Regions from separate parts of the Homo sapiens genome. Here regions 2, 3, 4, 5, 6 and 7 are each linked to region 1. Evidence: promoter capture Hi-C in 16 types of primary human blood cells and fetal thymus (Javierre and others, 2016). All regions are on one chromosome and are shown on one strand. The core of a region is centred on a gene start or on the middle of the fragment in contact, and the rest is flanking DNA. Distances in the headings are between cores, read along the strand shown.

The links. Contacts are between HindIII fragments. The CHiCAGO score rates a contact against its expected background, and 5 or more counts as called.
Region 2: a fragment that was not itself captured here is called in contact with the fragment with the promoter of NLE1 in region 1 in 1 of 17 cell types (activated CD4 T cells); the score reaches 5.0 in activated CD4 T cells.
Region 3: a fragment that was not itself captured here is called in contact with the fragment with the promoter of NLE1 in region 1 in 3 of 17 cell types (activated CD4 T cells, total CD8 T cells and total CD4 T cells); the score reaches 6.7 in activated CD4 T cells.
Region 4: a contact is called between a fragment that was not itself captured here and the fragment with the promoter of NLE1 in region 1, in 6 of 17 cell types (non-activated CD4 T cells, activated CD4 T cells, total CD4 T cells and 3 more). The highest score is 11.5, in non-activated CD4 T cells.
Region 5: a contact is called between a fragment that was not itself captured here and the fragment with the promoter of NLE1 in region 1, in 3 of 17 cell types (M2 macrophages, non-activated CD4 T cells and activated CD4 T cells). The highest score is 6.3, in M2 macrophages.
Region 6: a contact is called between a fragment that was not itself captured here and the fragment with the promoter of NLE1 in region 1, in 4 of 17 cell types (total CD8 T cells, activated CD4 T cells, total CD4 T cells and 1 more). The highest score is 6.9, in total CD8 T cells.
Region 7: a contact is called between a fragment that was not itself captured here and the fragment with the promoter of NLE1 in region 1, in 9 of 17 cell types (non-activated CD4 T cells, naive CD4 T cells, total CD8 T cells and 6 more). The highest score is 14.7, in non-activated CD4 T cells.

Annotation. Positions count from the first base shown.
Region 1 is chr17:35,141,012-35,143,756 of GRCh38, reverse strand. NLE1 (notchless homolog 1) reads left to right here and starts at 1,454. Exons shown (of 13, transcript NM_018096.5): 1 at 1,454-1,499; 2 at 1,635-1,778. The coding sequence starts at 1,482. RefSeq lists an enhancer at 1,146-2,023. The HindIII fragment of the contact is 3,765 bases long and covers 1-2,745 here.
Region 2 is chr17:35,442,695-35,445,502 of GRCh38, reverse strand. SLFN13 (schlafen family member 13) reads left to right here. Exons shown (of 6, transcript NM_144682.6): 3 at 1-888; 4 at 1,583-1,714. Among named protein-coding and RNA genes, the nearest start is that of SLFN13, 4.7 kb to the left of the region's middle. The HindIII fragment of the contact is 1,051 bases long and covers 967-2,017 here.
Region 3 is chr17:35,615,218-35,618,096 of GRCh38, reverse strand. The region is part of intron 5 of AP2B1 (adaptor related protein complex 2 subunit beta 1); the gene reads right to left. Among named protein-coding and RNA genes, the nearest start is that of AP2B1, 29 kb to the right of the region's middle. The HindIII fragment of the contact is 6,619 bases long and covers 1-2,879 here.
Region 4 is chr17:35,595,160-35,598,087 of GRCh38, reverse strand. All of the region lies in intron 2 of AP2B1 (adaptor related protein complex 2 subunit beta 1), which reads right to left. It also overlaps the pseudogene LOC100420062. Among named protein-coding and RNA genes, the nearest start is that of AP2B1, 9.3 kb to the right of the region's middle. The HindIII fragment of the contact is 5,699 bases long and covers 1-2,928 here.
Region 5 is chr17:35,514,921-35,517,640 of GRCh38, reverse strand. The region is part of intron 2 of SLFN12L (schlafen family member 12 like); the gene reads left to right. It also overlaps the pseudogene TOMM20P2. Among named protein-coding and RNA genes, the nearest start is that of SLFN12L, 21 kb to the left of the region's middle. The HindIII fragment of the contact is 4,488 bases long and covers 1-2,720 here.
Region 6 is chr17:35,644,424-35,647,340 of GRCh38, reverse strand. All of the region lies in intron 12 of AP2B1 (adaptor related protein complex 2 subunit beta 1), which reads right to left. Among named protein-coding and RNA genes, the nearest start is that of AP2B1, 59 kb to the right of the region's middle. The HindIII fragment of the contact is 3,257 bases long and covers 39-2,917 here.
Region 7 is chr17:35,555,700-35,558,399 of GRCh38, reverse strand. SLFN14 (schlafen family member 14) reads left to right here. Exons shown (of 6, transcript NM_001129820.2): 3 at 294-1,397. The coding sequence starts at 338. Among named protein-coding and RNA genes, the nearest start is that of SLFN14, 3.8 kb to the left of the region's middle. The HindIII fragment of the contact is 4,309 bases long and covers 1-2,700 here.

The DNA of each region.
Region 1 (2,745 bases), core at 205-2,704:
CATTATAAGGAGTGTTCTTTTTTTCCTGCATGTAAGGGAGCCGTCGCAGGGTTTGAGGGTGAAGAGCAGCAGGCCAGATTTTTGGTCTGAAAAGATAACCCTGGCTGCATCGTGGAGAATGGGTAGAAAGAGGCAGGAATGGAAATGGGGGGGCTCATCGGGAGGCTGTTGTAGCGGTCCAGGCAGGTGATGATGGTGACTCTGACCAGAGTGAGGCAGTGGAGATGGGGAGAGCAGATTCAAGCTGTGTTCATGAGGATGACTTGGCAGAGCTTGAGACTGCCTGAGCAGTGGAGGGAGAGAGAGGAGAGTTGGCAAGGGAGATCCTTCGTTTCAGGCAAAAGAGCTCAAGTTCATTGCTGTCTGCTTCAGTTCCTCAGTAATATGGGGAGAAAAGGGTTGTAAGAATTAAATGAGTTATGTGGGAAAGCACTTAGAACAATTCCTGACTTGTTGATGTCATTATCACTATTATTGCTTTACAGCATTGATGATTGTAGAAATGATTTGCTTTTGTACTCGAGTATTATTGAGTTGATCCATTTTATTTATTTATTTATTTATTTATTTATTTATTTATTTATTTATTTATTGAGACAGAGTCTTGCTCTGTCATCCAGGCTGGAGTGCAGTGGTGAGAGCTCGGCTCACTGCAACCTCTGCCTCCCAGGTTCAAGAGAATCTACCACCTCAGCCTCTCCAGTAGCTATGACCACAGGCGCATGCCACCACGGCTGGTTAATTTTTTTGTATTTTTAGTAGAGACCTGGTTTCACCATGTTGGCCAGGCTGGTCTCGAACTCCTGGACTCAAGTGATCTGCTCGCCTGGGCCTTCCAAAGCGCTGGGATTACAGGTGTCAGCCACCACGCCCAGCCTTGACTTGATCCATTTTTAAAAGGATACTAATTTCTAGGCTAGGCGTGGTGGCTCACACCTGTAATCCCAGCACTTTGGGACACTGAGGCTGGGGAGTGGGGGACTTGCTGCTTGAGTTCAGGAGTTTGAGACCAGCCTGGGCAACATAGTGAGACCTCGTCTCTACAAAAAATGAGAAAAAAATAACCGGGCAGGGTGTCATGTGCCTGTAGTCCAGGCTACTCTGAGGCTGAGGTGGGAGGATCGCTGTGCCAGAAAGTTCGAGACTGCAGTGAGCCGTGGTGGCACCACTGCCCTCCAGTCTGGGCGACGGAGTGAAACTCTGTCTCAAAATGAAATTAAATTAAAATGGGGCAAGAATCCCTGTTGTGAAGAGTCAAAAGTTTACTGTGTCCTCTAAGACCCTGGCGAAAAATAAATGTGAAGGCTGTTGAGGGGCGGGAGGAGCACCAGGTAAGCCCATTTCTAATCCCTGAGGCCGTGCGCAGCGGGACGCTTCTCCTCCCCAACAGCAGAGGGCGATGTGGCCGGCGGCGACCCCGCCCGACCACGGAGACGGCGCTCTGTCTGCCGGGCTCTTTCTCCTCCACGTGGGGACGCAGGATGGCGGCAGCAGTGCCGGTGGGTGTGCGTGGATGGGGGCGGGGGGCGTCGCCGCGGGGCGCTAGGGCCCGGGTCCCTGAGGCCTGAGAGAGGCGAAGTGGGGCCCTTCTGGGCGGGCGACCAGACTGACTCCCGCCCCACTTGCTCGCGCAGGACGAGGCGGTGGCGCGCGATGTGCAGCGGTTGCTAGTGCAGTTCCAGGATGAGGGCGGGCAGCTGCTGGGTTCCCCGTTCGACGTGCCCGTGGACATCACCCCGGACAGGCTGCAGCTCGTGTGCAACGCGCTACTGGCCCAGGTAAGTGGCTGGCCAGGGCGGCCTCGCATCTCCACCCCCGGGCGGATGCGGTGGGGGAATCATATTACCGAGGGTCTGCGGTTCATGGTCCCCCGCTAACGGACTGTGGTGACCCACCTGGCGTGAGCTCCCACCTATGTCAGAGATGGAATCAGTGGCATAGCGCTTTACACGCCAACCAAAGGGGTCCACCTGCGGAGAGGGGCCTAGCTTTGAACGCACCGGATGCTGTATTTCATTGATTCTTTGTCACAGTCCCCCAGTCTGGGACACGTTAATATCCCCATTTTACAGCGTGGCCCGGAGGGACTCAGTATTTTGCACGATGCTATGTAGTAGGTAGCAGATTTGGAATTGGAACCCAAAACTATCCGAATACCCATGCTTTTATTTATTTATTTATTTACCTTTTTTTTTTTTTTTTTTGAGACGGAGTCTCACTTTGTCGCCAGGCTGGCAAGCTGGAGTGTAGTGGCGTGATCTCTGCTCACTGCAATCTCTGCCTCCCAGGTTCAAGCGATTCTCCTGCCTCAGCCTCCCGAGTAGCTGGGACTACAGGCGCGCGCCACCACACCCAGCTAATTTTTGTATTTTTAGTGGGGACTGGGTTTCACCACGTTGGCCAGGATGGTCTCGATCTCTTGACCTCGTGATCCTCCCGCCTTGGCCTCCAAAGTGCTGGGGATTACTGGCGTGAGCCACCGCACCCGGCCTTTGCTTTTAACCTTTAAGCCAGTGTGTTTACTGAAGAGCTGCCCTGGGGACAGGGGAGGTCCTTAAAATTGCAGTTCCTGGACCCCATCCCAGCCTTACTAAACCAAACTCTGGGATGAAGCAGAAAGTCTACATTTTTTAACAGGCGTTTTGGGAGCTTTTTACACAAATATAGTGTAGTGTGGTAGTTTGGGAAACACTGCATAATGCTATATGCTAATCCTATCTTGGACGTAAAGAACCTGAATTAATC
Region 2 (2,808 bases), core at 243-2,742, 300 kb before region 1:
TGATTCAGATGGAAATGGCCAACAGGGATGAGCGTCCCACAGAGATGGGACTGGATTTAGAAGAATCCTTGAGAAAGCTTATTCAGTATCCATATTTGCAGGCTTTCTTTGAGACTAAGCAACACGGAAGGTGTTTTTATATTTTTGTTAAATCTTGGAGTGGTGATCCTTTCCTTAAAGATGGTTCTTTCAATTCCCGCATTTGCAGCCTTAGTTCTTCATTATACTGTAGATCTGGCACCTCTGTGCTTCACATGAATTCAAGACAGGCATTCGATTTCCTGAAGACCAAGGAAAGACAGTCCAAATATAATCTGATTAATGAAGGGTCTCCACCTAGTAAAATTATGAAAGCTGTATACCAGAACATATCTGAGTCAAATCCTGCATATGAAGTTTTCCAAACTGACACTATTGAATATGGTGAAATCCTATCTTTTCCTGAGTCTCCATCCATAGAGTTTAAACAGTTCTCTACAAAACATATCCAACAATATGTAGAAAATATAATTCCAGAGTACATCTCTGCATTTGCAAACACTGAGGGAGGCTATCTTTTTATTGGAGTGGATGATAAGAGTAGGAAAGTCCTGGGATGTGCCAAAGAACAGGTTGACCCTGACTCTTTGAAAAATGTAATTGCAAGAGCAATTTCTAAGTTGCCCATTGTTCATTTTTGCTCTTCAAAACCTCGGGTAGAGTACAGCACCAAAATCGTAGAAGTGTTTTGTGGGAAAGAGTTGTATGGCTATCTCTGTGTGATTAAAGTGAAGGCATTCTGTTGTGTGGTGTTCTCGGAAGCTCCCAAGTCATGGATGGTGAGGGAGAAGTACATCCGCCCCTTGACAACTGAGGAATGGGTAGAGAAAATGATGGACGCAGATCCAGGTAAGAGGGAACCAGATTCTCCCTTCCTGACCTTTCTACCTCTTCCCCAATACCACTTCCTTCTTTATTCTCTAAGCTTGACCTTCTCACACCCACTGAAATTTACTTTCTCTAAATCTCCATGCTTTTCATAGATGGGAAGTTTTATTGGGTGAGAAAAAGCCAAAATGAGATATTTTGTGAATGGTGATTTCCCACAAAAGAAGAAGCAAAGGAAAAACCTTGGAAATTGGTTCCTTTAATAAAACCATTGAATTGGAATCTGTTGGAGCCTCATAATAGTGATTAGCTTGTACCTCAGATTAGCATAAAATCAACTCTGGGAGACAAGAGCTAGTGTTGGTTGAGGTTTGTTTAAGTTGAGGTTAGTGGAGGTGCGTGCACAGGGATATAAAAACCTGATGATTATAACTTAAAGAGAGTTTTTTTCCACTGCAATTCAAGCAAAGAACTATTCAAACATGGAAGAGGGGGCATTATATTGCATGGGGAAACACCATTCAAGGATCAGAAAAAGGGCTTTTAATGATGAATCTTTGGGAACCTGGACATAGAGTCAAGAAAGGGTAAAGCATCTGACTTTGTGGCCTGACTTGTACCATGTTAGATGAAATTTAGACACAGCCTTGTACAGCCTATTCCAATAGCGAGACATGAAATCATATAGTGTAAATTAAAATGTTCTTTCTTTCAGAGTTTCCTCCAGACTTTGCTGAGGCCTTTGAGTCTCAGTTGAGTCTATCTGACAGTCCTTCACTTTGCAGACCAGTGTATTCTAAGAAAGGTCTGGAACACAAAGCTGATCTACAACAACATTTATTTCCAGGTACTGACTGCCAGTTTTTACATCAGGAGAGAAGGAAGTCATTTAATACATTTCGTGGAAAACAAATCCATGAAAGATTGTGTCCTGCAGATCCAGGTGTACACAGTGACAATGCCACAAGCCTCTTGGGGATGAGTTTCAGGTGCCTTTAGAAATCATCTGGCCCATTGGTTGCCACATCTGGCTGATTATTAGAAATGCCATGGAAGGTAGTTAAACATGCAGATCTCCAGGCCCACACCAAGAACTTATGAACGCTTAATTTCCAGGGGAAAGGCCTAGCCATATGCATTTGGGCAAGCTTCCCAAATTATTCTGATGCCCTGCTGGGTTTGGAAACCAGTGATCTAGTACAACTACAAGGGGAACAATGGAATAACTAGCCACTTCTGGTCTACTTTTCAAGGATGGAGGAATTATGTCTGTAAAAGGAATAAAAACATTCACCTGGTAGAATATAAGAATATAGAAAAACCACAAATAATTTCTCTTTGGAAGAGGCTAGAGGGAACGACTCGCTAATGCTTCAAAGGTGGCACCAAATAATAATTCAAGCCCATAGACAATGTTATGTAACCCCTCTCCCTGCTGCCCAAACATTTTTTAGCAAGGTTTTTTTCTCGGAGTTCCTACTTACAAAATGAAACCTAGATTTTTCAAGGAGGGAAATGGCTTAACTTCATACATTGAACATATTAAGTATGAGATTTGACAAAAGAATATGATACACAAATATCCTACGTATGTCCAAACATTTATGAAGGGCAAGGTAATTCATATATTAGGCCTTCCTTAGGTCTGTTTACCACCAAATAGTTTCTTTACTTACCTGAGAGCTTTATAGTCATTAGCTTATCAGAAAAGTTTTTAAACATTCCACATTAAGAATCCAAGGTGCAAGAGTAATTGAATACATGGCTTTCACTTTCTCAGGCTCAGTAAATTGCATTTCAGTTGACATGCTCCACTGTCCATGAGATACATAGAAGGGTGACATCATTCATTTTACCAGATTTGTAGGTTGTGGGTTAAAGAGATATGCACCAGGCAAGGCGTGGTGGCTCATGCCTGTAATCCCAGCACTTTGGGAGGCC
Region 3 (2,879 bases), core at 151-2,650, 470 kb before region 1:
AATCTAGAATATTCCATTTTTTCCCCATCTTCTTCCTTAGAATGAGAGGTAAAACTACCTAGTGAGCCAACACATCTCATTATGAAAAGAAAGTCTGATTACATAGTAACAAGGTTTACAAAAAATAAAATTCATTACTTAAGTGGTTTAAGATATGATTTAACAAAATTCAAGTACTCTCAAAGCCAAAACACTACAAATAAATATCGATAAACAAATAAAAGGCATGCCTATAACCATCACAGTTATTTGGACCATGGCCCCTAAAATTCATTAAAGCAAGCTGCAACTTGAACAAAATAAAACACTTATTATCACACCACTTATGATCTCCCCATTTCTAAGAGTAAAGTATTCCCCAGCCAAATTACAGCCTTGAGGTCATCTTAAAGTGACAAATGAGCCTTGATATACTGGCAAACCACCAAAACAACACACAACAGATCCAGCTTTCAGGAAGTTGCTGTTGAGAACTACTTTAAACGTACACCCTTGAATAATTACCTTGTAAAAGTAGTAAGTAGTACTCTTAGATTTAGCTTCATTTGTGGGTAAGTTGCCCTCAGAGCTTTAAAAAATTTAATCTTTAAAATTCTTCATCCTAAAAGTTTTAATCTTAACCTTAAAATTTTAATCTTATAAAATTAAAAAGTAAATTTTGCCACTGAAATACTAACCCTTCTAAAATTATTAATATCCGGCACTACAATCACTGTACAATATAGAATATATGTTTCTGCTGGGCATGGTGGCTCACTCACGCCTGTAATCCCAGCACTTTGGGAGGCTGAGGCAGGCGGATCACTTGAGGTCAGGAATTCAAGACCAGCATGGCCAACATGGTGAAACCCTGTCTCTACTAAAAATACAAAACTTAGCCAGGCATGATGGCATGTGCCTGTACTCTCAGCTACTCAGAAGGCTGAAGTGGGAGAATTATTTGAGCCCAGGAGATGGAGGTTGCAGTAAGCCGAGATTGTGCCACTGCACTCCAGCCTACGCGACAGAGCAAGACTTTGTCTCTTAAGAAAAAAAAAAGGATATGTGTTTGTTATTATTAGGGGCTTACTCCATATGAGGACCAGTATTAAGTGCTTTGCAAGCCCTCTGTCCTTTAATATTCACAACAATCCTACGATAGAAGCACTATTTGTAATCTCCACTTTGTAGATGAGGATGCTAAAATTTAGAGACACCACTCGTCTAAGAAATAGCAGAACCAGGATACAAACCCAAATCTATTTGGTTCTAGAGCCTGAGTTTCAACCACTATGCTATGGTGACTGGATGAAAAATGCCATTTCATGGTTGTAAAGCACTTTTCTGTTTTCGAGCTACCTTCAAACAGAGTAGACTGATGCATTATAAAAGGAAGTGACTAAACACAATTTGGTATTCCGGACTGAATCCTGGAATAGCGAAAGGACATTAGTGTTGAAACTGGTGAAATTCTACTTTGGTTAATAGTAACATCCCAATGCTAATTTCCTAGTTTTGGCAAATGTACCACGGTTACGTAAGATGTTAACATTAGGTGAAACTGACTGAAGCGTATATGAAAACTTTCTGTACTGTCTTTGTAACTTTTCTGTAAATTTAAAATTGTTCCTCTAAAAAATGAGGTATTTTGGCAGGGCGCGGTGGCTCATGCCTGTAATCCCAGCACTTTGGGAGGCCGAGGCGGGCGGATCACGAGGTCAGGAGATTGAGACCATCCTGACTAACACGGTGAAACCCCCCGTCTCTACTAAAAATACAAAAAAAATTAGCCAGGCGTAGTGGTGGGCGCCTGTAGTCCCAGCTACTCAGAAGTGTGAGGCATGAGAATGGCATGAACCCGGGAGGCGGAGCTTGCAGTGAGCCGAGATCGCGCCACTGCACTCCAGCCTGGGCGACTGAGCGAGACTCCGTCTCCAAAAAAAAAAAAAAAAAAAAAAAAAAAAAAAAAAAAAAAGAGATATTTTTTAAAACCTAAGTTCATAATAATATAAAACGACGTAATGATTTTTTAAAAGTGAAAATACACAGAAAATGATTTCCACAAAGCACATTATAAAAGGAAAACAAAAAGTGTTTGCTTTCTCTATAAGTAGAGACAGAAATACACTCAGACCAACTGGTGGGAAATTCAAGAGCTGGGAAGTTGGCCTCATATCAAAGCAGCCCCCAATGATTCCACTTACCCAAACTTCAATCCTGCAAAAATTAACAGCAGCTCCTTTTATAATATGAAACACAATTTGAGGAACTCAGATACAGACTGAATGTATTACCTTCAATGTTACTCTTATCAAGTGCTCACCACATACTGACATTATCATATGTGCCTAAAATTCTGCCAGCTCTAACTCCTTCATGGACATTTGATATGAAAAGTATTACACATTTTAAATTTCATTTATGTATAATATTTTAATTTTGTAATTGTTACTTACTAATATATATTTAAGGATAACAACAATCCTATAATTAACGTACTAAATAAAGTTAAGTCATTAAGTTTTTCTATGCATTCTGGGCCTACCTTTAATAGGCAGTTTAACATAGCCTACATGAATACCAAATATATTCTGACAAAAATTCTTAGAAAGAGATCTAGACAGATGGCATTTTTTCAATATTTTATCATCTTAGGTTGACAACAAATCACCACACAAGTAAACTTCCTAATGCCTAAATGAAGATTATAACAACCGGAAGGTGCATAATGTTAGGCCACTTCCTCAAGAATAGCTGCAGTTTATTAAGCATTTACCATATATCAGGCAAAGTTTAAAATTTTAAATACATTATTCTTTCATCTTCAAAATAATTCACTAAAATCGGCATTATTACCTCAGTTTTACATATAAGACAACTGAAGTTCATTTTAAATAACT
Region 4 (2,928 bases), core at 262-2,761, 450 kb before region 1:
GCCCTAGAATATTACCTGACTCACTGACAAGGAAGCCATCAGTAAGTTTTAAAAATCTTTTAAATTATGGCCAGAGAGGAAGGTGCAATCCAGATCTTCAAGAACCACAAGAGTGGGAAAAACCAAATCTCATTATATCTAGCTACAATGGGGAGAGAACAGTATATGAAGGATGATCTTCCATCAGAATGTTAAAGTCTGGAGGAGAACATAAACGTAGGTAGGGAGCAGGCGCGTATTACCTCATTTACCCACGCTCGGCTTTACAGATTAAGAAATGAGGCTCAAAGTTCACAGAGTCAGTGACAAAGTTGGGCTTAGCACTGTGTCTCCTGACTCTTGAATGCAAAGGTTCTCAGCCCTGGCCACACACTAATATTACCTGAGAAATACTAAATATAGCAAAGTACAGGCTCCACTCTGGGCCAAATAAATCATAATGTCAAAGAGAACTCATATTTATACCTTTAAGAGCTCCACCAAGTGACTCTAACGCACACCCAATGTTGAGAATCACTACTTTAATCAGTACTTTAATAAATCAGTGGGCTTTAAGGCCCTTGCTATTCAATCAAACAAGAATAATCTTGAAACCAAGAATGGTACACAATGGAGTCATTTCCAAAGGTACAATCTTGAATGACTGCTTAGGCTCCGCACTGTAAACTGTCAGGGACTGTAACCACTATTTTAAGGCCTGGTCTCCAGGCTCACCTATCTGCAAGAAGCCGGAACCAAAATAAAAAAGAAAGTAACAACCCTAATATTGTTTAAAAGAAACGGAAAAAAAACACTAAGTCCATGAAAAAGAGGTTGACTACTCCCATCTCAACTTTCCATCTACATCCTCCAGCTCATCTACCATACTGCCTCAAAAGACTTTCCTCCACCTTCAAGACTGTTCCTGTCGTTCCTTTCAACCAGATCTCATTTACCAGCATAGAAACAGTGGGGACAGTCTCCGCTTCCGGAGGTCGCTACTGCTGCCTCAGTGGCCCCGGAGCGGGGGCGCCCAGGGGTCCTTCGCCCCCGGCCACGGCCCCCACAACGGGGCTTCGCCGCCACCTGTGTCCGAGCTGGACCGTGCAGGCGCCAGGCTCCTCTCCGAAAGGCGCACGAGACAGCTTTCTTCTCCTGGTTCCACAATGGCCTCCTGGCATAGGGCATCGGGGTTATCTCCTTCATGCAGAGTGACATGGATCACGAAGCAGCATATGGCTTCTTCCTGCTGGGCGGCCTGTGTGCGGTGTGGGGCAGCGCCTGCGGGGCCTGGCAGCGCTGCGGGGGCCCATGCAGCTGACGCTAGGGGGCGCAGCTGCGGGCGCTGTACTCGCCACCAGCCCGCTCTGGGTGTGCGCCGCCGTGGGCTTCTACACCGGGCAGCTGGAGCTGGACGTGAAGCTGGTGCTCGAGGGCGACGGGGCGGCCTCCGCGGAAGGCCCTGATGAGGCAGGCTGGCCGCCACCCGAGTGAGCGACATGGCCGCCGGGCCTGGCAGGCGCGGGATGACGGCGCCCGAGGACTGGGACATTAAAACCTGACCTCCCCTCCTCCAAAAAAAAAAAAAAGAAAGAAATAGTGGGGACAAACACTACGTGATTTGCCTGAAACCATTATGTGGAAAGGATGAAATTAGTAAGACACAGAAGTAGAGCACTTTTTCGTTTCAATATCCATGGCCAATAAGGCAAAAAAATTGTTCCAAAATTTCTATTTAATCAACAGCTACAAAAGTAGCATAGCAAGAAAAGCTGGGCCCTTTAAAGAGTCATTCTTCATAGGACTCTTCACCATGTCCCATCCTGCCAAATCCAGCTCTTAGAGTTCCTCTCATTCACTTCCGGGAACAGTGAAGGACAAACGGCGGGGTTTCAGAAAGTCTGAATTGTGAACAGCAGCAGGTGTTATAGAATCAAAGCAGGATGTAACAGAAATTATTCCAATTCCAAAAGCATAAATTTAAAGAATATGTTTCAGTGGCAGTTCTGGTGGGTGTTGCAGGAAGTACAGGGAACACAATCTATCAATTTTTTTTAAGTATGATGTTTATTAGCAGTGATTCAATCTGCAGTCTCAAACTTTTACAAATGCCTGAATTAAAAAAAGGTCACCAGGACACTTTTCAAGAGTAGGTTTGAAGAATTAGGAGAGTTTTAAAATTATAACTATTTAATTGTAATTGTATCCCTTTATATAATTATAGACATTTTGTTCGTCAAAGCACACAAAATGCTAACAGAAGAAGAAATAAACATATTTCCAAAAGAAAATCAGAAAAAGCTGAGACTGAATGACAAGTGGCTAATGGCTTTTGTGAGGTGTAAGTAATAAAAATAAGGAGGAAAAAGTTGGGCAGGACCAAAGAGGGGTACTAAAAGAGGCAAAGTCATATATTCTACAACTTTATTAAATTCCTATATTTTCTCCCTCCTCCTCCCCCCAATCAAATCTACCAAGCACTGTTAGCAGCTAGCAGTAGTTCTCAATCATGGCTGCACATTAAAATAATCTGGGGAGCTTTCTTTTTAATTTTTTTCTTTTGAGACAGGGTCTCTCTCTGTTGCCTAGGCTGGGGTACAGCGGCACAATCACGACTCACTGCAGCCTCAACCTCCTGCACTCAAGTGATCCTCCCACCTCAGCCTCCCAAATAGCTGGGACTACAGGTGTGCACCACCGTACAGGGCTAATTTTTAAATTTTTTTTCATAGAGATAGGGTCTTACCATGTTGCCCAGGCTGGTCTCAAACTCCTGCACTCAAACAATCCTCCTGTCTCAGCCTCCCAATGTGCTGGGATTACAGGCATAAGCCACCATGCCTGGCCACCTGGAGAACCTTTAAAATCCTCACACCCAGACCATATCCAGGACAACTGAAATCAGGCTGAGGTTGAGACCCAGGCATCAGTATTATTTCAAAGTTCCCT
Region 5 (2,720 bases), core at 38-2,537, 370 kb before region 1:
AGTTAGGTAGTGTGATGCCTCCAGCTTTGTTCTTTTTGCTTAGGATTGTCTTGGCTATATGGGCTCTTTTTTGGTTCCATATGAAATTTACAGTAGTTTTTTCTAATTCTGCAAAGAAAGTCACTGGTAGCTTGATGGGAATAGCATTGAATCTATAAATTACTTTGGGCAGTATGGCCATTTTCACAATATTGATTCTTCCTATCCATGAGCTTGGAATGTTTTTCCATTTATTTGTGTCCTCTCTTATTTCCTTAAGCAGTGGTTTGTAGTTCTTGAAGAGGTCCTTCACGTCCCTTGTAAGTTGTATTCCTAGGTATTTTATTCTCTTTGTAGCAATTGTGAATGGGAGTTCACTCATGATTTGGCTCTGTGCTTGTCTGTTGTTGGTGTATAGGAATGCTTGTGATTTTTTTTTCTCTGCCCCAGCCCTAAAATCAGCCATTTCTCCAAGAAGCTCTGGTTCCTTTTACTGAAGAATGGCAAAAACCAAGATCTGTGCCCTCACTGCTATTTGTTTGTTTTCTTAATTTGTTTATGTTGACTATTCTGGCTTTTGCGGGATGTCACTGTATATGACTGCAGTGCCCATGGCACACATTAGCCATGTGTAGAAAATTAGTGCTTGCTATGTGGCTGGTGCAAATTGAGATGACAAGTAAGTGTAAAATAGACACTGGGATTCAAAAACTTAGTATGACAAAGAATGAAAAATTACATGAATCATTTTTAAATGGATTACGTGTCAAAATGATAATATTTTGGAAATATTTAGTTGAATAAAATATTTTATTAAAAGTAAAGCTGCTTATTTATTTTTACCTTTTAAAAATGTGCTTACTATATTAAAATCACATTTATGTATTGCATTATATTTCTGTTGGATGGCACTGGTATATGGATCATTAAAATAGGTCTGCTCATTGTTAAAATTAATCTGCTCATCATTAGACTAGACCAGTGGCTCTCAATAGAGTGGAGGGGGTGGTGGATTTTGCCCTCCAAGGGACATAATATCTGGAGATATTTCCGGTTGTCACCCCTTGAGGGGAGTGTGTTAATGGTACCTGGTGGATAGAGGCCAGGGATACTGCTGAACATCCTAGAAGGTACAGGATAGCCCCCCACAACAAACAATTTTCCAGCCACAAATCTCAATAGTGTCAAGGCTGACAAATCCTGTACTACAAAAAGAAGGAGTATAGTTCTATCCTTCTTAAACACGTATTCCAGAATGGAAAGGCAGAACTGGTTAGAGTTTTAATCTGATCAAAGTGATGGAATGTTTTGCTTTAGGACAACTAATGCCTGGTGCACTGAGGTTCCTATATGCTGGGGAGCTGGAAAATGGAATGAAGAATCTTAGAGGATTCCATGCCCCTAGTAGGGACCCCAACCTTTTTGATGCTGAAGTAATAGAGTTGCAAAAACTGTTTGTTCTTGTGAAGTGGTAGTGATATGTGAAGGACAACTAAGGGAAATAGTTTCCTCAGAAAGATAAACTATCTTCAGTGGATATTAGAAAATAAGGATATTAATGTCTCTCAAATTCTATGGTCCTATATTGATCAGTTTGAAGATGTTACTAAGTGTTTATATAAATCTAGTAGAGGGGGTCTCTAAGAATCCCAGGGAAAAAATAAGAAATTAAGCCCAAAACATCCAATTCTTTAAATATGCTAACTCTTTAAGAAACACTGGCGGGGTGCGGTGGCTCACGCCTGTAATCTCAGCACTTTGGGAGGCAGAGGCGGGTAGATCACGAGGTCAGGAGTTCGAGACCAGCCTGGCCAACATAGTGAAACCCTGTCTCTTCTAAAAATACAAAAATTAGCCGGGTGTGGTGGTGGGCTCCTGTAATCCCAGTTACTCATGCGGCTGGGTCAGGAGAATCGCTTGAACCTGGGAGATGGAGGTTGCAGTGAGCCAAGATCGTGCCACTTCACTCCAGCCTGGGCAACAAAGAGCAAAACTCCATCTCAAAAAAAAAAAAAAAAAAAAAAAAAATTGCCGGGCGTGGTGGCCGCTCCTGCAATCCCAGCTACGCAGAAGGCTGAGGCGAAAGGATGGCTTGAGTCTGGGAGGCGCAGGTGGCAGTGAGTTGAGATCACGCCACTGCACTCCAACCTGGGGTGACAGAACGAGAATAGGTCTCAAAAACAAACAAGCAAAAAATCAAAACAAACAAATAAACTAAAACAAAAGAAACACTCTCCAGGCATAGAGAAAATAATATAAACTCAGTGGTAATCCTATACACATGACTCTCTCTCAAACTTGCACAAATATAGTAAATGAACTAACGATTTTAATCTTCAGAACCCTGGATCTTGCTTTCCAAGTGCCTGTCCCGCCGGCGTCGGGTCTGAGCGGCTCCCTGTGCTCGGATGGTTTGTGGGCAACCGCTCCTTTCCCCCACCGCCGCAGTCCACACTCAGCGTTCTGGGGAAGAGGCTGGGTCGGAACGGAGCCATCGCCGCTGGAGTATTCGGGGCCCTTTTCATCGGGTACTGCATCTACTTCGACCGCAAAAGACTGAAGTGACCCCAACTTAAAGAATAGGCGTCCAGAATAAAGAAAGAAACAGAAGCTGGCCGAGGAGTGAGTTGAGCTTTCCAAGTTAGCTGACCTTAAAGATGCTGAAGCTGTCCAGAAATTCTTCCTGGAAGAGATATAGCTTTGGTGAAGAGATCCTAGCTAAAGGTGTAGACCACCTGACA
Region 6 (2,917 bases), core at 418-2,917, 500 kb before region 1:
AAACCTCCTCATTTAGATCTTCATTTGAAAACAAAGCTTGAACATTATAAAACAAAAACAAGTTGATATTTTTAAAAGAGCAGAATACAAGTTTCTCAAAATATCAGGTCAGGGAAGCAACTCCTCTCTCCCACATTTTTTTATATGTAACTTAAACGTTAAATTTTAACCTATATATGCAGTCCTTAAGGCACATGTACTTTAGAATTTGTAAAGTATGGTTTTTATTACATAATTAAACACTGCATTTATCTTATTAACTTAGAAAATTCAGTTTGTCTTTATGGACTAGTAATATCTTAAAGGTATTCAACTTTATAATACATAGTTTAATAATATACTCATCAAAATAAAATGCTTTTTCTTCAAATTATTTCTCCCATATGTAATGTAAACAATTTAACCAAATGACCAAAAAGAAAAATTCCTATAGGGATTCACAAAATTCAAAAATCTCAGCCAGGCACGGTGGCTCAGTAATCCTAGCACTTCAGGAGGCCAAGGTAGGCTGATCACTTGAGGCCAGGGGTTTGAGACCAGCCTGGCCAAGATGGCAAAATCCCATCTCTACAAAGGGTACAAAAATTAGCCAGGCATGGTGGCAGATGTCTGTAATCCCAGCTACTTGGGAGGCTAAGGAGGGAGAATCACTTGAACCCAGGAGGCGGAGGAGGCTGCAGTGAGCTGAGATTGCACCACCGCACTCCAGCCTGGGTAACAGAGTGAGACTCCATCTCAAAAAAAAAAAAAAAAATTATATATATATGAAAAAAATTTGAGAGTTCCTCTACAGATTATTCAAAATGCTGCAATATGGCAAACTACTGGAGATAGAGTTACTGGATCAAAGTCTAAACAGACACTAACTTGAAAAATACAATCCTATGAGAAATGAGTGCAAATCTCCCAAGGCTGAAAAGTCAGGAGTAGGGAAGAATCTCCTAACTGCTCAAACTCTGTCGTTCTGAGGGATGACCTGTTAGGCCTACTGTAAGCCAGTCCTCACCAACTGCCTCACATTTTACATGGAGGCCACAGTAATTCAGACCGTCAAGACCGAGATAAATAAAAATACAGGACCTTTTTGTAATCTTAAGTTGCCATTAAATGTTTGGTGACTCAGATAATTTGGCTTTGGATCTACTGTACTGCTAGACCCATAGGCCTTCCTCAGGGGAAGAGGTCCCAAAACAATACTTACCAGGCCAGCACTAAAACAGTAATTCTTAAACTATAATGTGCATCAACATTTTAACATACCAGGAATGCCACTGAAAGTGCAGAACCCAGGGGCCATACTTCAGAGATTCTGATTCATTACATCAAAAGTAGGGCCTAGTAATTAGTATTTTTAACAAGCAGCCCAAATGATTCTGATGATGGTGGCCCCTAGTTCATAGACAGAAAAACATGAAGACTTCTATTCCATGTATCACAAAGAATAATTACTAACGTCTAGACATTTTTTTGTTTTGTTTTGTTTTGTTTTTTGAGACAGAGTCTAGGTCTTCTTGCCCAGGCTGGAGTGTAATGGCACGATCTTGGCTCACTGCAACCTCTGCCTCCCGGGTTCAAGTGATTCTCCTGCCTCAGCCTCCCGAGTAGTTGGGATTACAGGCGCATGCCACCACGCTCGGCTAATTTTATATTTTTAGTAGAGATGGGGTTTCTCCATTTTGGTCAGGCTGGTCTCGAACTCCTGACCTCAGATGATCTACCTGCCTCGGCTTCCCAAAGTGCTGGGATTACAGGCATAAGCCACCATGCCCGGCCTTTGTTTGTATTCTTTACTCAGTTGAACTGAATATTGTATTGAATTTCTGTGTAACAGGTAAGAGAAAAAGATAAATTTTTGAAATGAAGCCTCAGATTCAAGGGTTGGGTTTTTCCCCCTAACTAATAATATTTTTAATTATACTCCCATTTTACTTAAAAGCACTAAGATTTCACATATACTTCACTTAATTCTCAGCACAGGTAAAGAACAGTATTAATTAACTCTACTATAGAGACAGAAGAAAAGCAGTATGAAAGAAATTTGCTCAGTCATGTCCAGAATCAGTGGAAGTAGCATCATCAGAACCTCACTACCCAATTTAAGTTAACATGTGCTCGCTTCGGCAGCACATATACCAATTTAAGTTAACACAATTCAGCCGACCACATTGCATCCTAAACTTAAATTGGTACTCACTAGCCATAAATATTTAGGTTCTTATTTCACAAACTTGGGGAAAAAACAGAAAACTTCCAGGTAAAAAGACTTACATAGGCATACTTATTCTTTTTTTCTTTCTTTTTTTTTTTCCGAGACAGAGTCTTGCTGTATTACCCAGCCTGGAGTGCAGTGGCATGATCTCAGCTCACTGCAACCTCTGCCTCCTGGGCTCAAGCGATCCTCCCACCTCAACCTCCCAAGTAGCTGGGATTACAGGCGTGTGCCACTATGCTCCGCTAATTTTTGTATTTTTTGTAGAGATGGGATTTTGCCATGTTGCACAGGCTGGTCGAATTCCTGAGTTCAAGTGATCCGCCCGCCTTGGCCTCCCAAAGTGCTGGAATTGCAGGTGTGAGCCACAGCACCCAGCAGCATACTTACTGTTTTATGATAACTTCTCAGACTTCATTAATTAATTGGACAGAAAAAGCAAGCCTCAGCCAGGCTCTGTGGCTCACACTTATAATCCCAGTGCTTTGGGAGACCAAGGCAGGAGGATCACATTAGATCAGGAGTTCAAGACCAGCCTGGCCAACATGGTGAACCCTCATCTCTACTGGAAAAAAAAAAAAAAAAAATTAGCTGGGCGTGGTGGCATGCACCTGTAATCCCAGCTACTCAGGAAGCTGAGGTAGGAGAATTGTTTGAACCCGGGAGGTGGAGGTTGCAGTGAGCCGAGATCACGCCACTGCACTCCAG
Region 7 (2,700 bases), core at 12-2,511, 410 kb before region 1:
TCATCTACTAGGGAGACTGAAGTTGGAGAATCACTTGAACTGGGAGGTTGAGGTTGCAGAGAACTATTATTGTGCCACTGCACTCCAACCTGCATAACAGAGCAAGATTCTATCTCAAAAACAAACAAACAAAACTAAAAAACCCAAAACAAACAACAACAACAAATATACATATAGAGAGAGATGACTTCCAACATTAAAATATATCTCCAGTAATTGATAGTTTTGAAGAAAATATTGTAATCTTTGGAATTCTTATTAATATAGAAACAATATTTCTGTCCTGATTATAGGAACTCCTTTCTTTTATTGTTTGGAGCACAGAGGGGCTGCTGAAATGGAGAGTCTCAAGACTGATACTGAAATGCCGTATCCTGAGGTAATAGTAGATGTGGGCAGAGTGATTTTTGGAGAAGAAAACAGGAAGAAGATGACCAACAGCTGTTTGAAAAGATCTGAGAATTCTAGAATTATCCGGGCTATATGTGCACTGTTAAATTCTGGAGGTGGTGTGATCAAAGCAGAGATTGATGATAAAACCTATAGTTACCAATGCCATGGGCTGGGACAGGATTTGGAAACTTCTTTTCAAAAGCTCCTTCCTTCAGGTTCACAGAAATACCTTGACTACATGCAGCAGGGGCACAATCTCCTGATTTTTGTGAAGTCATGGAGCCCAGATGTTTTCAGCCTTCCACTAAGGATTTGCAGCTTGCGCTCCAATTTGTATCGGAGAGATGTGACTTCTGCTATCAACTTGAGTGCTAGCAGTGCCCTGGAGCTTCTCAGAGAGAAGGGGTTTAGAGCCCAAAGAGGAAGACCAAGGGTGAAGAAGTTGCATCCTCAGCAGGTTCTCAATAGATGCATTCAGGAAGAGGAAGATATGAGGATATTGGCCTCAGAATTTTTTAAAAAGGACAAACTCATGTATAAGGAGAAACTCAACTTTACTGAGTCAACACATGTTGAATTTAAAAGGTTCACCACCAAAAAAGTCATACCTCGGATTAAGGAAATGCTGCCTCATTATGTTTCTGCATTTGCCAACACTCAAGGGGGATATGTCCTCATTGGGGTGGATGATAAGAGCAAAGAAGTGGTTGGATGTAAGTGGGAAAAAGTGAATCCTGACTTACTAAAAAAAGAAATCGAAAACTGCATAGAAAAATTGCCTACATTCCACTTCTGCTGTGAGAAGCCAAAGGTAAATTTCACTACAAAAATCCTGAATGTGTACCAAAAAGATGTCCTGGATGGTTATGTCTGTGTGATTCAAGTGGAGCCCTTCTGTTGCGTGGTGTTTGCAGAGGCCCCAGATTCCTGGATCATGAAAGACAATTCTGTCACACGGCTGACAGCTGAGCAGTGGGTGGTCATGATGCTGGATACTCAGTCAGGTAAAGGGAAGTGAAGTCATTGTCCCCATCAGCAGGGAGGAACCCCTTTCTCTGCCTTTTGTGGGTATTTGATCACATATGTTAGTTAAAAAATAGAAATTTATTTTTCTTATAAGTGTTCTCCCATTACAGTGTTCCTTATCTAACATTTTTAGTTCCAAAGACTCAGAATATAAACTGAGGTCAAGAAATGTTTGGATTCTATGGCCTAAACAACTTTTTTTTCTTTAGACTCTGTCACCCAGGCTGGAGTGCAGTGGTGTGACCTCGGCTCACTGCAAACTCCACCTCCCAGGTGCAAGTGATTCTCGTGCTTCAGCCTCCCAAGTAGCTGGGATTACAGGCACACACCACCATGTCGGCTAATTTTTGTATTTTTAATAGAGATGGGGTTTTGCCATGTTGCCCAGGCTGGTCTTGAACTTCTAACCTCAAGTGATCAACTCACCTCCACCTCCCAAACTGCTGGGATTACAGGTGTGAGCCACCACTCCTGGCCAGCCTAAGCAACTTTTAAAGGAAAGTTACAGTATGCCATCAGCAATGAGTTAGGAAAGGTCTCCTTTTATTGTCTATAAACCTGTTGAAAAAATTGTGCAGGCTGATCATCCCAGTCAAAATTGGAATAGCCTCATTTTAGAGATGATATTCTAGAGAAACACTGTTTAAGAATAACTCTGAGGCTGGGCGCAGTCCTAGCACTTTGGGAGGCCAAGGTGGGCAGATTGCCTAAGCCCAGGAGTTTGAGACCAGCCTGGCCAAAATAGCGAAGCCCTATCTCTCCCCCAAATATAAAAATTAGCCAGGCGTGGTGGTGTATGCCTGTAGTCCCAGCTACATGGGAGGCTGAGGTGGGAGGATTGCTTGAGCCTGGGAGGTGGAGGTTGTAGTCAGCCAAGATCACTCCACTGCACTCCAGCCTAAGCAACAGAGCGAGACCCCGTCTCAAAAAAATAAATAAATAAAAATAAAAAAATAAAAATAAATGACTCCACTACTCCACTAATTCTTTCAAGCAAAACATTGTTGACAAATTTGAATTGTTTCAGTAACATTAGGAGCTAATAACCTTAAGCCACTGGGCTTAGGGCACCACCAAGTGGGGGAAAATGATGCAAAAGGAGATGCTAGGGCAAGGGGGTGCTGGGGGGAGCAGGACCCCTGGTGTTCTCACTTACCTTTCAGTTTTGATTGGAATCAGCCTTGGTGATTCCTAATCAATCCATAAAGGACTATAGGCCGAACTACGCCTATCTGCTTGCCTTCACGGCCAGTATGTTCCAGATTTCATCAAAACTTGAGT